Regions from separate parts of the Homo sapiens genome. Here region 1 is linked to region 2. The links are contacts of gene promoters, found by promoter capture Hi-C in blood cells and fetal thymus (Javierre and others, 2016). All regions are on one chromosome and are shown on one strand. The core of a region is centred on a gene start or on the middle of the fragment in contact, and the rest is flanking DNA. Distances in the headings are between cores, read along the strand shown. Region 1 has its middle 4.3 kb from the start of HTATIP2. Region 2 holds the start of NAV2-AS3 (NAV2 antisense RNA 3).

What was found. The method cuts DNA at HindIII sites, captures the fragments that hold promoters and counts their contacts. A CHiCAGO score of 5 or more calls a contact.
Region 1: a fragment that was not itself captured here is called in contact with the fragment with the promoter of NAV2-AS3 in region 2 in 1 of 17 cell types (erythroblasts); the score reaches 6.1 in erythroblasts.

The regions. Positions count from the first base shown.
Region 1 is chr11:20,357,534-20,361,241 of GRCh38, forward strand. No RefSeq gene overlaps it. Among named protein-coding and RNA genes, the nearest start is that of HTATIP2, 4.3 kb to the right of the region's middle. RefSeq lists an enhancer at 3,200-3,419. The HindIII fragment of the contact is 7,195 bases long and covers 1-3,708 here.
Region 2 is chr11:19,979,317-19,983,364 of GRCh38, forward strand. NAV2-AS3 (NAV2 antisense RNA 3) reads right to left here and starts at 2,058. Exons shown (of 2, transcript NR_174949.1): 1 at 1,921-2,058. All of the region lies in intron 10 of NAV2 (neuron navigator 2), which reads left to right. RefSeq lists an enhancer at 1-364. The HindIII fragment of the contact is 1,320 bases long and covers 1,262-2,581 here.

The DNA of each region.
Region 1 (3,708 bases), core at 197-2,696, 380 kb after region 2:
GATTATTTACAAGGAAGCAGGAAGGGTTAAAGAAAACCCAACAAGGAATGGTGCTGTGTCTCAGTGCTAGCAATAGCGGGGAGCCATTTCTACTCCTAAGTCTAAAAGGTTGAGGCAAGGAGGTGGTTACTGGAACCTGGAGAGAGTGCCTGCAGCTGTCAGGGAGGCTATCAGACAGGAGTGAGGCTCTTGGGTCGAGGAATAGCAATCTCATAGCAGGAATTCAGGGGAATAAAGCCCCTAACCCCATACTCCTCCTCTGCTTCAATTTCCTACTGGTGACTCTTATCACCAAGGTAGGTGATAGGTCAAGGAGGACAAGGTAGACTGGGTGATGCAGGCCTTAGAGGTCAGCTGTGGAGTCACAGAAAAGGATACAGAGAGTGGAAAGTGGATCTGGAGGGGCAAATGAAAAATGTGCCTGTAATCCCAGTACTTGGGAGGCTGACACAGATAATTACTCGAGCTCAGGAGTTCAAGACCAGCCTGGGCAACATGACAAAACCCTGTTTCTGGAGAAAAAAAAAAAAAAGATGCGTGTCTGTAGTCTCAGCCACACGGGAGGCTGTGGGAGCTTGAACCCGGGAGGCAGAGGTTGCAATGAGCTGAGATCATGCCACTGCCCTACAGCCTGGGCGACAGAGCAAGATCATATCTCACAAAAGAAAGAAAAAAGAAAAATGCCCAACATACCAGTGTTTCCCAAACTTTACTCCTTCAGATACTATTTTCATGAGTTTACCATATCCTATGTTTACAATACACTCAGCTGTACTTAATATTTTATGAAAACGTCCTCTTTTTTTTTAAACTTTGTTAAATGTACTACTAGTAACAGGTACTAATAAATGTATTAATGGTAATTAAGGTAATATTTCACTACCTTGAATAGAAGAAAACCATAAAAAATAAATCTAATAAAATCAAGTTTGCTAAATTTTAAAACCTAAAATTTAACAATAATTATAAATGATAATGTATCTTATGATGTCCTTCACAGGCTGGTCCCTACCTGCCTCTCTAGTCTCCCCTCCCCTGCCCTGCCCCTGCCCCATGCTTCCATCTCTCCATTTCAAGCATATTGGTTTTTGGCCCTTCAAAACCAGCCATACTTCTACCTACCACAGTGCTTTTACATAGGTTATTCCTTTGGTATATATCAGTAAGAGGACATACCCATGAGTGCTAGGGAACCTGAAGAATTTAACAAATACAGTGCTATCAGCTAAAAACAAGAAGAATTATGCTTTCCTGAAAACATTCTAGAATTACACAGGTATTACTCATGATTTTGTCATTGATCTGGATATCCAGGTTCTTGTCCTGGCACCAAAGTTGAATCCCAAGATCTTAGATGATATATTTAATAAACGTGTGACTCAGTTTCTCCATCTATAAAAACAATTAGCTATCAAGAACACGATAGATACACTAAATCAACTACCTAAACTGTTGAATGCAATTCATGGTTGTATTTGTTATGTGAGAGCAGAAAATTACAATACTTTCTTTCAGACACCTACCTTTACCAAATCCAACCTCTTATGTGCCCAACCAGATATCTTAGTCATGCTACAGTTATTTAAAGCTCTCATTTGTTAAAAAAAAAAAAAAATTATCTAGCATTCATATTTACAAATAAATGAGATAAATGGGGAACAAGTATAGCCACTTTAGATGCTATTTAACATCCGTTCTGTTTTCTTTCTATAATAGTGACCTCTACTTTCCTTGGGGACCTTACTTCCTCCCCTACTCCCAGACATGTGGGAAGAGATAGCCCCACCCGGCTTCATTCCCAGAGCCACAGTGACAATCATAAGGTTTAATCAGAACTAAGGAGATACAGCTGGGGACTTCTGCTTACAGTTATGCTCTTTCTACTGGACTTGAATCTAGGGGGATGTACTTGATAGCTTCAATCATCCATTCTCCTCATTTATCTACCTTATTGTATGCCCTGAAGAAAACTGGTCTGCACAATATAAGTTCCCTCTAGCTTCTGGTTGAATTTAGACAATGAAGAGTATGAGCAAGAGCACAGCCTTTGGGTCATCTTGCAGGGTCTGAGAGTAAGGCCGACGTGAAGGGAAATAGAGCCATGGTTGGCAGAGGGACTGGGTCCTGGCCCCATTGGCTGACTGGCTGATTCTGGTCATGCCAAGACTATTATATACACTGATTCTTTAGTTGCATGAGCCAGGACATTTCCTTTTTTTTTTTCCTCAAAACATTTTGAGTTTGGGGCTTCAAACACGTGAAACAGAGTCTTAATGAAGGTATAACTAAAAATATAGCTCTGAAGTGAAGATGCATGGATCCCTGATCCTGAGGACTCTAAATCTGACCTAAATACAGTTCCAGTCTCCCTAAGGCCCCATCCTACAGCAGATCCTGTTTTGAGATTTCTCTGAGATTCTGTCTCTCTTATACATGATTTATAGCCTTACAATATTACAATATTCACCATCTTTACTCGCCATGAGTCAGTTTGTTCCTTGGAGCAAAGCGAATGTAATGAAACAGTTCCCATCTTACAGATAGGGAAATGGAGGCCAAGATATATGAAGAGACTTCATCAAAGGCAAACCTGAACGTGGCAGGCAGGTCTCTGGCCAAGGATCTTTCCATGCCAGCTCCGTTTCTTTATGTCCCCTTTCCCTCCTTCCCTATGCTTTCCCCTTCCCCTTTGCCCTGAATTTTTGTGGTCCGGTTGCTCTAGGAGCCTAGGTCTTGTCACATTATCTCAGCACTTGGATGACATGGTTCCAGCTGTCAGAGAAGGAAAGGCATGGACTTGTTTTTCTCTGAGTTTCCTTCTATTTCTGTATGCTCATTTGGCCTTCAGCATGTGCCACCCTGTGAAAGTTTGGGGGATGTTTTATAATGTTGCTTAACTTTATTTAGCTTCCCAAGTATTTATGACTTGCCTTCAAGATGAGAGTGAATTTAGCTGGTGTCCCTGATTCACCTTGGAAAAATCTATTGTGCCTAGCACAGTATCTGGCTTGCATTAGATAATCAGTAAATATCCATTGACAAGATTGACTAAAAGAATCTTACATTAGGCAAAATGCTGGCTAAGCTGCTGTAACAAAATTACAGTGGCTCCAACATGACAGAAGTTGATTTTTCTCTCACTCCCCAGAGGTGTGCCGGCAGTCCAGGGTGGGCAGGCGGCTCTGTTCTATGAAGTCATCCAAGGGCTCCTTGCCCTGCTATCCTCTAGAGAGTGTCTTTCTCCTCATGGTCAGAGCTGGTTTACCAGTACATTCACATTCTGGCCTAAGCAAAGGGGGAAAGGGAAAGTGAAGGGAAAGGGAAAGTGAAAGGAAAGAAGGTAACTTCCTTATAAAGATGTGATTCAAATGTGCACATATTACCTCTGCTTGCTTCTCGTTGGCTAAATCACTGTCACGTGCTCGTGCTAGCTTGCAAGTGTGTTGTGGGAAGTCAGGGACCCCGAATGGAGGGACTGCCTGGAGCTCCGGCAGAGGAACATAAATTGTGAAGATTTCATGGACACTTATCGGTTCCCAAATAATACTTTTATAATTTCTTATGCCTGTCTTTACTTTAATCTCTTAATCCTGTTATCTTCGTAAGCTGAGGATATACGTCACCTCAGGACCACTATGATAACTGTATTAACTGTACAAATTGATTGTAAAACGTGTGTTTGAACAATATGAAATCAGTGCACCTTGA
Region 2 (4,048 bases), core at 808-3,307:
TCATGTATCCCCCATCTTACAGGCAGAGGCCTGGCATCCAAGATGTTCAAAACCATCCCCCAGGTCCCATGCAGCCCAGTTCCTAGCTGTGATCCCAGTGTTCTAACAATAGTGAACTACTTACCCTTCTCTGAACATACCTTCCCCTCTGCCATTTCTCTCTGCTTTTGCATAGGTTATCCATGTGTCTAGATGGATCCTCTTTTGGCTGGCAAACTCCTCCGCACCCTTTAGGGCCAACTTAAACAGCACTCCTCTGCGACGCTTTCTCCCGTGTGTTCTCAAAGCCAGTCATGCATTCATCTGTTATACCACTTTTATGTAGCAGTAGAGCTATTTGCATGTCTTAGTCCCTAGTAGGTTTTGAGCTTCACCAGAGCAGGAACTAGGTCTTGCCACTCCTGTAAGCAGCTAATGATTAGGAAGTGCTCCCTATATGCCAGGCACTGGGCTTTCTAAACATATGCACTGTCTCATTTAACCTGCCACAATCCTATGAGGGAACTTAAACTAGAAGAAATTGCGCTGAAATGCGACAGTTGGGATTTGAACTCACCTGCCTGCGCTGGGATCTTAACCACAGCTCTGTTTTCCTCATCTGAACAATAGAGATGACAATAACACTTGATAAGATTATTTTGAAGGTTGAATGCCATGATTTATGTGAAGCACTTAACACAGTACCCAGTGAGCATTTAGTACCATTAGTGCTTACTAACAATGATGTATACTAGGTCCTTCAGCCAGCAAGGGGCAGAGAAGGCATTTGAACAACTTGGGTCTAACAACAGTCATGTTCCTTAACCCTGATGCTCATGGGCCACCCCAGGGAAGCAAGAAAAACACCCCACAGACACCTTGTCCCTTTAGCAGAGGCTCTGACTCTTTCCATCCAGGGGTCTCTGGGGAAGCTTAAGAAGGTGGATGCGGAGAGCCGCCTCCACCCACCTATCATGGCAGAACTCGGGAGGGTAATGGGGAGATGGTTCAGTAGCTTAGCAACTGAGGCAAGAGTCCACTCAGAAGACATTAGGATGTTACCAGCACCTCATTAGGCTCCAGCACTAATTATTTATCTCTCCAAGGAGAAGGAAAGTGTGGCATGGGTGTTCTGAGATTGAGTTCTTGGATCAGCTGGTTCCTTTGCTTGTGACCTCAGACAAGTCATTTCTTCTTCACCCAGTGTGAGCCTCTTATAAAAGCTCCTCAAGTGGAGGATGAGGCCATCAGTCCTCTGGCTCCCTGAACCTTCAGAAACACAAGCTTTTTTAACACTTCTGGGCAAAAGCCAGTGTTTCAGATAAACACACCCGTGGCTGCTTCATCTGTAAATTATGCTTTCTTAAGGCCTTCACTTTGTTAAGGCAGTCTATATTGATGTATACAATAGCCAATTCCTATACAAATTTTGGTCCAGCAAACCCAAATTTGTATATTTTTCATTGACTGTATAATACAGGAGTTATTTAAAAATATATACAGAGCTGTTTGTAAATCATTGTAATTGGTGGATAATAATTTAGAAACATTTTAAATTAATTTCTTGAGTGTGAGGCTGGCTCTAACCACAGCTCTGTCTCTGGTGCTGTGCCGTCTCCCAAGGAGAGACATACAACAGAATTTATTTCAAAGAATATTGTTGTTTAAAAAACAGTTGAACATGTGTTTACATATCTCTAAAAGAAGAGGTAAGTTCCCCATTTTCCTTATCACTCTGCCTGCCCTCCCTCTACATGCGCACGATAAGTGAAATAGACTTGCAGTCTTGAAACTAGATCATTGTCAGACTAGTTGCATTCACCTCCCTGACTTTCATTTCTTCCTACAGTTTGAGAAGGCAGAAGATCCTGATTTAGCTTTGCCTTTCCCCTCCCCTCTGCCAAAACAAAGTCAGAATTCCCAACAGCAAGCCCAGCTCACATGTTCAGTTCCATTTCAGTCCCATTTCTCAGAGGCTTTCCCGCTTTTCTGGGGTTGTCGTTTTCTGATACATCCACGTTGCACCCGGGTGTAGCTGGGCTGGGGCTGCAACGTTTCTCAGCATTCTGTGTCTGGAATGCTCACCAGGCCCCACAGTCTGGCCTTAGCAGGAAGCCAGGGTTCTGTACATGTGGGCCTTGTCTACATGCCTGTGTGTGTGTAATTACCCAACCGTGTGTGTTGTTTCACCAGCAATAAAAATCCAGCAGGGAAATGAATGCTAAAATTAGTTTGTTTGTCCTTTGACAAGATCTCCCCAGTTGAAAGAATTTTGTTTATCTAACTGGCTGGGCAGACTTGGCTAAGATCAAAATTAACTGCCTTGCTTAATGGTGTAATAGATGGTATTTTGAAGAGCTTCCACTGAGTTCTCCTTGAAAGGACGTGGGGTCTAGAAAGTCCAGCCTCTGGCAAAGTTATGGCATTTTGGTGTAGGTGTTTTTTCCTCCTTGTGCTACCTGTAGGATGGATGCCCATAACCCATTACTCTACCCTGAGTCACTCTATCTGTTGGAGGGTGGCTGGATGGATGGATGATGGGTAGATTGGCAGATCGACAGTTTAATTTGCTTGTCATATGTCTTAAATGTAAGTTTGTTAAAGCTTAAGAGGAAAGAAAACCTGTAATCAGTGTTCTTGCAAAAAAAATTTGCACAGCCCTATGGCTGTGTCTTTGGGCTTCATTCATTCATGTGTTCATTCATTCAACAAAAACAGCATTTAATAAGCACCTAGTATGTACTAAGCTCATGGGATATAGATTTGAACAAAATAAGAATCTCTGCCTGCAAAGAGCTTACTATTTAGTGTGAGAGACATGCATTGAAGGGCAATTAAACAAATAATTATTTAACTATAGCTGTAATCATTTTTTATATTTTTATTGAGATTTAATTCATATATCATGAAATTCACCATTTTATTTATTTATTTTTGGGGTTTTCTTTTTTGTTTTGTTTTTGTTTTTGTTTTGTTTTGTTTTGTTTTTTGAGACGGAATCTCACTCTGTCGCCCAGGCTGGAGAGCAGTGGCACGATCTCGGCTCACTGCAACCTCCACCTCCCGGGTTCAAGTGATTCTCCTGCCTCAGCCTCCCAAGTAGCTGGGACTACAACAGGTGCATGCCACGTGCCCGGCTAAAAATTCACCATTTTAAAGCATACAATTTGATGGTTTTTAATGTATTCACAGAGTGGTTTTTAAAATGATAAAGTTGAGTGAAAACTTCAGTCTCTTCTGTTGCATTTTCAGCACAAGCACAAACACTTAGTCTGATTTACTCCAACAGATTTCTCATTATGTTGATATTGTGACCTTGGGGATCATTAATGTCATAAAGGGAGGAGCAGGGAACATTGGAGGTGTTGAATTTAGCCACAGTAGCTTAGAAGCTTCCTGGGTTCCTCTTACCCATTCTGGAAGGTGCTTTTCACATGAGATAACTCCAGTGAGAATTTTCTTCTCTGCCCCTTACTTGAACTTCCTGGTCTGGGCAGCCTCGTCTGCATCTCATAATTCTGTTCTTGAAAAATATATCCTAAAAAGGTCCCCAGCTACAGGTAGAAGAAATTCAAGGATTGGGAACCCTCAGGGTCGACTCCATATATGCAAAAGTTAAAATGGCAAGTGCAATTAAGCTTTCCATGACGTAGCTCAGCTGACCCTGTTTCAGAAAAATAATGACTCATTGGTCCTCTTACTACATATTACTTGATTTGAAATGTAAAATGCTTGCATTTTCAGATACCTTGCAGGGTGATCTGATGGGGCCCATAAGGGATTGAAGGGATCCAAGTTTGGTTTCTGGCTCTGCCCAAGTTTTGCTTTGCCTTCCTGTTCTCCTCTGAAGATGAGGGAAATGACAAAACCAGTCTCCTTTATGGGGGCTGTGAGGAAGCCAAGGTAGATATGAGGTACAGCTGCCTTGGACTGAGCTACCTCCTACTAGTGGCTAAGCTTTCAGGAACTTGTCTGGTTGGTAGACAATCAGCCATCTGTACAGAAAGTTCCAGACATCCTCCCTCTCAAGAACAGCACTGATTTCATCAGAAGACAGCTTTGTAGTATT